2 separate regions of the Homo sapiens genome follow, and region 2 is linked to region 1. The links are contacts of gene promoters, found by promoter capture Hi-C in human tissues and cell types (Jung and others, 2019). All regions are on one chromosome and are shown on one strand. Each heading gives the region's core, a stretch centred on a gene start or on the middle of the fragment in contact. The rest is flanking DNA. Distances are from core to core; before and after follow the strand shown. Region 1 holds the start of ACOT4 (acyl-CoA thioesterase 4). Region 2 overlaps RBM25 (RNA binding motif protein 25).

What was found. Contacts are between HindIII fragments. The study calls those that stand out against the background at their distance.
Region 2: a fragment that was not itself captured here is called in contact with the fragment with the promoter of ACOT4 in region 1 in 1 of the 25 tissues and cell types used here (dorsolateral prefrontal cortex).

What each region holds. Positions count from the first base shown.
Region 1 is chr14:73,590,306-73,593,659 of GRCh38, reverse strand. ACOT4 (acyl-CoA thioesterase 4) reads right to left here and starts at 1,787. Exons shown (of 3, transcript NM_152331.4): 1 at 1,244-1,787. The coding sequence starts at 1,700. It also overlaps a transcript of HEATR4 not described here. RefSeq lists a silencer at 1,173-1,242 and an enhancer at 1,054-1,553. The HindIII fragment of the contact is 17,984 bases long and covers 1-3,354 here.
Region 2 is chr14:73,063,570-73,066,923 of GRCh38, reverse strand. All of the region lies in intron 1 of RBM25 (RNA binding motif protein 25), which reads right to left. Among named protein-coding and RNA genes, the nearest start is that of RBM25-AS1, 5.8 kb to the right of the region's middle. RefSeq lists enhancers at 975-1,475, 1,476-1,976. The HindIII fragment of the contact is 8,376 bases long and covers 1-3,354 here.

The DNA of each region.
Region 1 (3,354 bases), core at 538-3,037:
AAAGAATTTGCTTTCCTGGCTGGACACTGTGGTTCATGCTTGTAATCTCAGCACTTTAGGAGGCCAAGGCAGGAGGATTGCTTGAGGCCAGGAGTTCAAGACCAGCCTGGACAATGTAGTGAGACCCCATCTCTACAATCTTTTTTTTTTTTTAATTAGTCAGTGTGGTGGTGTATGCCTGTAGTCCTAGCTACTTGGGAGGCAATGGAGGGAGGATCACTTGAGCCCCAGAGGTCAAGGCTGCAGTGAGGTGTGACCACACCACTGCACTCCAGCGTGGGCAACAGAGACAGACACTGTCTCAAAAAAAAAAAAAAAAAAAAGAAAGAAAGAAAAGAAAAAAGATTGAAACAAAACTTTATGTTCTGTTGCATCAGCCCTCTGGTTTTTAGTGTACTGATATTTCAGATGTCTATGTAGAAAGGGAGGAAAGAAAAAGAAATACCCAGAGATGGTTTTAGGTGAGAAAGGCAGTGGAGTCTGAAGTGTGACCTGTGATAAAGCAGCACATGAAGAAGTGGAGAAGAGACAGTGTGCCTAGAACACTAGAGAAGACGACATGGTAATAGCTTCATTCACTGTCATCATTCTGCCTTAGACAAGTCAGGCTGATGCCTGTAGAAATCTGTAGGGTAGTGATTAATAGCAAAGTGGATAATGTACCTGACGACCTGAACCTGTTTTTTCATCTGCAGAATAACAATACCAACTTCATTGGGATATTATAGAGACTAACTGATAGAATGCAAGTAAAAACCGTAGTACACAGCCTAACAAAAAATCCTTTTTTTTCTTTTTTCTTTTTTTGAGACGGAGTCTCGCTCTGTCACCCAGGCTGGAGTGCAGTGGTGCGATCTCGGCTCACTGCAACCTCCATCTCCCAGGTTCAAGCGATTCTCGTGCCTCAGCCTCCCGAGTGGCTGGGACTACAGGCGTGTGCCACCAGGCTGGACTAATTTTTGTATTTTCGGTAGAGTCAGCGTTTCACCATGCTGGCCAGTCTGGTCTCAAACTCCTGATCTCAAGTGATCCGCCCATCTCGGCCTCCCAAAGTGCTGGGATTACAGGCGTTAGTCACCACGCCCGGTACCAAACCCTCTATTTTGGTAGAGTGGCCACTGACATAGTCAATGTTAGCTTCTCTGATCTTGCTCCAAAACCAAACCAGTGCTAAATCAGCACTGGAAACAAACGGAGACTCAGGCCACTGACGCTCACACCACCCGCCAGCAGCCTGGCTCACCTGGCGGCAGGAAGAGCGTGGCGCGCACCCGGCCCGCTCGCACCGACTGGCGCCGCACCCCTGGCGGGAGGAAGTGGCGCTCGTGCTGCGCCTGGCACAGCAGCCGTCCAGGCTCGGGGTCGTGGCCGTCCAGCACCTCCAACTCCACGACAAAAGGAATCTGTACGTCCCGCTTCAGGAAGCGCCAAAAAGGCTTCTCGGGTTCCAGGGCCCAGAGCAGCCCCATGGGCTCGAGTCCCGCGAAGCTGCCGCCCAGCGCGGGTGCGCGCTCCAGGTCCAGCTCGCCGCGGGCGTCGGCGCAGTAGCGCGCGTGGGCCCGGAAGAGCGCGCCCTTCTCGTCGCGCAGGGACGCGCGCAGCGTAACCCGCTGCTCCGGGGCCAGGCCGCGCACGGCAATGCGCACCGGCTCGTTCCAGCAGCAGCGGCCTGGGGGCTCCAGGATCAGCGTTGCTGACATCTTGGAGCCGGAGCGGGGAATTCAAAGGTCGAGGCCCGAGACCCGTCCAAGATCGTGGCAAGCGCGCCGAATGTCCGGACGGCGTCCGGCGTCCCCTGGTGCCGGAAGCTGCCGGTGGCTGAGCAGTCCCAGAAAGCCCCTGGGACTTCAGACCGGTTAACCCGGCGCTCCGGACTCGTCTGAGGCAAAAGTAGCCAGGCTCCTCTTCAGGGTCGTCTCCTTGGGCCCCGGGGCGCGCAAGGTGTGGCGCCCAACCCACCCCGTAGAAAGCCTCTCTGCCTCACACCACCCTCGGTTGTTGGAATGAAAGTTGTTGGATGATCAATTTGTGGTGAAACCAAAAGCCAATGAGATCAAGCCAAATTCCAGCCTTTCATGGGCTCCATGGAAGGTTTTGTTTTTAACTTTTTTTTTTTTTGAAACAGAGTCTCCTCTGTCGCCCAGGCTGGAGTGCAGTGGCGCTTCGGCTCACTGCAATCTCCGCCTCCTGGGTTCAAGCGATTCTCCTGCCTCAGCCTCCCGAGTACCTGGGATTACAGGCGCGCGCCACCATGCCGCTAATTTTTGTATTTTTAGTAAAGAGGGAGTTACACCATGTTGGCCAGGCTGGTCTTGAACTCCTGACTTCAAGTGATCTTCCCGCCTTGGCCTCCCAAAGTGCTAGGGATTACAGGCGTGAGCCGCTGCGCCCGGCCTGCTTTTTTGTTGTATTTGAGACAGGGTCTCTCTCTGTCATCCAGGCTGCAAGGCGGTGGCTCGATCACAGGTCACTGCAGCCTCCACCTCCCAGGCTCAAGTGATCCTCCTGTCTCAGCCTTCGGAGTAGCTGTGACTACAGACAGCGCACCACCATGCCACGTTAATTTTTAAATGTTTATTTTTAGAGAGGAGGTGTCACCCTGTTTCCCAGGCTGGTCTCGAACTCCTGAGCACAAACTATCCTCCTGCCTCTGTAGTCCCAAAGTGCTAGTGATACGTGACAGCATGCTGGCTGCCCTCGCTCGCTGTCGGCGCCTCCTCGGCCTTGGCGCCCACTCTGGCCGCGCTTGAGGAGCCCTTCAGCCCGCCGCTGCACTGTGGGAGCCCCTTTCTGGGCTGGCCAAGGCCGGAGTCGGCTCCCTCAGCTTACTGGGAGGTGTGGAGGGAGAGGCGCGGGCGGGAACCGGGGCTGCCCGCGGGGCTTGCGGGCCAGCGCGAGTCCCGGGTGGGCGTGGGCTCGGCGGCCCCGCACTTGGAGCGGCCGGCCGGCCCGCAAGCCCCGGGCAGTGAGGGGCTTAGCACCTGGGGCAGCAGCTGCTGTGCTCGATTTCTCAGCGGGCCTTAGCTGCCTCCCCGCGGCGCAGGGCTCGGGACCTGCAGCCCGCCATGCCTGAGCCCCCGCCCCCGCCGTGAGCTTCTGCGCGGTCCGAGCCTCCTCAACGAGCTCCGCTCCCTGCTCCACTAACGCCCAGTCCCATCGACCGCCCAAGGGCTGAGAAGTGCGGGCGCACGGCGCGGGACTGGCAGGCAGCTCCACCTGCGAACCCCGTGCGGCATCCACTGGGTGAAGCCAGCTGGACTCCTGAGTCTGGTGGGGACTTGGAGAATCTTTATGTCTAGCTAAGGGATTGTAAACACACCAATCAGCACCCTGTGTCTAGCTCAGGGTTTGTGA
Region 2 (3,354 bases), core at 448-2,947, 530 kb after region 1:
CATAAGTAAAATATACTCTTATTTCAATTTACATTTCCCTCATGACTAATGAGGTTGAGTATGCGTTTACCTGTTTACTAGACATTTCTTTAAAACAGAAAAGCATGACCTACATGCTCACAGCTCTACTTCCTCAGAATTCCTTTGACTTAAATTGGGATAATACCATATTCAATAAAACTAAACTTCAATTTCAGAAAACACAGTATACTTAAAATATTTAGAAAACTTTATAGGTAAAGGAATCCCTAGGATGCATTTTTTTTTTTTTTTTTTTGAGATGGAGTCTTGCTCTGTCACCCAGGAGTGCAGAGGCACCATCTCAGCTCACTGAAACCTCCGCCTGTCGGGTTCAAGCGATTCTCCTGCCTCAGCCTCCCAAGTAGCTAGGATTACAGGTGCACACCACAAGGCACGCACGACCAAGCTCAGCTAATTTTTGTATTTTTAGTAGAGACGGGGTTTCACCATGTATGGCCAGGCTGGTCTCAAACTCCTGGCCTCAAGTGATCCGTCGGCCTCGGCCTCCCAAAGTGCTGGGATTACAGGTATAAGCCACTGCGCCCAGCCCTTAGGAGGATTTAATATACTTGGCAAATGAGGTATTAGAAATGTTTTAAACAGTAGGTAGGTTATCAGTACATATTAACAATGAAAAACACAAGATTGCAAGACTGTAAATGTGTTGAGTTTTAAAATAAACTTTCTGTAAAACTTTTTGACCAAAACCAAAAACTGGGGGTGGTATCTCTTTTTAAAACAGAAAGGGCTACTGTCCTACTTACAGAAGCTCTTCTATTATCATTATAATAGCCTATCTCAGTGCTTTCTTAGGATAGTTGGTTTTCATACCTGTTGAATAAACTGATTAATGAATAAATCAGTAAACAAACTCTGAGGACTTCAATAAACAAATTTATTATGCTATCTCATGCCGCATACTATATTCTAGCAATGGCCCAGTGCCTAGCCTCACAATGGTTACAAGACTGGGCCATGAACTCATTTTTAAAACCACTTTTCCCCCAATAATATTAGATATAAATAATGCTTAAAAACTAAAACTCTCGGTCAGGGGCGGTGGCTCACACCTGTAATCCCAGCACTTTGGGAGGCCAAGGCGGGCAGATCACTGGAGGTCAGGAGTTCGAGACCAGCCTGGCCAAAATGGTGAAACCCCTGTCTCCACTAAAAATATAAACACTGGGCTGGGTGAGGTGGCTCATGCCTGTAATCCCAGCACTTTGGGAGGCCAAGGCAGGCAGATCACAAGGTCAGGAGATCAAGACCATCCTGGCCAACACGGCGAAACCCCGTATCTAATACAAAAAGTTATCCAGGCATGGTAGTGTGCGCCTGTAGTCCCAGCTACTCAGGAGGCTGAGGCAGGGGAATTGCTTGAACCTGGGTGGCAGGGGTTGCAGTGAGCCAAGACTGCGCCACTGCACTCCACCTTGGCGACAGAGCAAGACTCAGTTTCAAAAAAAAAAAAAATTAGCTGGGCACAGTGGCTCACCCCTGTAATCCCAGCACTTTGGGAGGCCGAGGCAGACCGATCACTTGAGGTCAGGAGTTGGAGACCAGCCCGGCCAACATGGTGAAACCCCGTCTCTACTAAAATACAAAAACTAGCTGGGTGTGGTGGCGGGTGCCTGTAATCCCAGCTACTCAAGAGGCAAAGGCAGGAGATCACTTGAACTCGGGAGGCCGAGGTTGCAGTGAGCCGAGATCGCGCCACTGCACTCTAGCCTGGGTGACACAGTGAGACTCTGTCTCAAAAGAAAACAAACAAACAAACAAACAAAATTAGCCAGGTGTGGTGGTGCGCACCTGTAATCCCAGCTACTCTGGAAGGTGAGGCAGGAGAATTGCTTGAACCTGGGAGGCAGATGTTGCAGTGAGCCGAGGTCGCGCCACTGCACTCCAACCTGAACGACAGAGTAAGACTCCGTCTAAAAAAAAAAAAAAAGTAAAACTCTATATTCTTGGTATTTAAGTTATATTTTATGGTTTTTAAATGTGTAATTCATTCTGCAGAGTTAACCAGATATATTTAATTTTCGTTTATGCCAATATACCCATTCCATTCACTTCAAATTTTTCCATAACATATTCCCCTTTATTTGGAGCTGCCAAAACTTGCTTGTTGATAGGCTGGACTTCAAAGGTGAAGGCAAAAATACCAGTTAACAGCTAATTTTTATGGATATTCCTTTAAGATAACTGGCCTCTCCTGGGCGCGGTGGCTCACATCTGTAATCCCAGCACTTTGGGAGGCTGAGGCGGGCGGATCACAAGGTCAGGAGTTCGAGGCCAGACTGGCCAACATGGTGAAAGCCCGTCTCTATTAAAAATACAAAAATTAGCCAGGAATGGTGGTAGGCGCCCGTAGTCCCAGCTACTCGGGAGACTGAGGCAGGAGAATTGCTTAAACCTGGGAGGCAGAGGTTGCAGTGAGCTGGGACCGCGCCACTGCACTCCAACCTGGGTGACAGAGCGAGACTCCATTTCAAAACAAAAATAAAAAAGATTGGTCTCTCATGGAAAATCAGAAAACATTTCTCATCTTTGATAAATACTAATGTCCACTTTAAGCAGCCTAAAAGATTACCAACTACTTATTTCAACACAGGTTTATGTGTTTTGCCATGTGAAACTGATTGAGAATTAACTTTCATAATCATAAGCAAAGCTTATCTGTTACCTATAGATGATAAACAAAATAAATTATAATACATTGAAAGATGGTATGTACTTTGTAGAAAAATAAATTAGGGAAGAGAGCTATGGAGTAGTTTATTTTAAATACAGCGATTAGGCCTCACCAAGAAGGTGAAGATTAGAACAAAGATTTAAAAGAGGCAGAGGCAGGAAGCCCTATTCATATCTGGGGGAAAGAGACTTCCAAGCAAAGGAAAAGACAAATACAAAGAGGCTGAAGCAGGAATGGTGTATTTGAGGGAGGAATAGCAAGGCCAACAGTATGACTGGAGCAGAATAAATGAAGAAAATCAGAAATAAATACTGAGTATTATGAGTAGAGTGTAGGGCTATGTAACACAATGTAAATAAACATTTTAGTTTTAACTCTGAATGAGGTGAAAATCATTTGAAGAGTTTCTGACTTGTCACATTTTAACAGTATCACTGGCCACTGTGTTAAGCCTGGAAGGGAACAGGATACAAGCAAGAGACTGGTACAATAATCCATATAAGAGATGGTAGCCTGGAGAGATGGTGGCCTGGAACAGGTGGTAGTGGTGAAAGTGCTATCAAGTTGTTGGATCCTGGATATATTTTGAAGGCAGCCAATAGGATTTGCTGAGGGATTGTATAATATGTGGGATTTAAAAG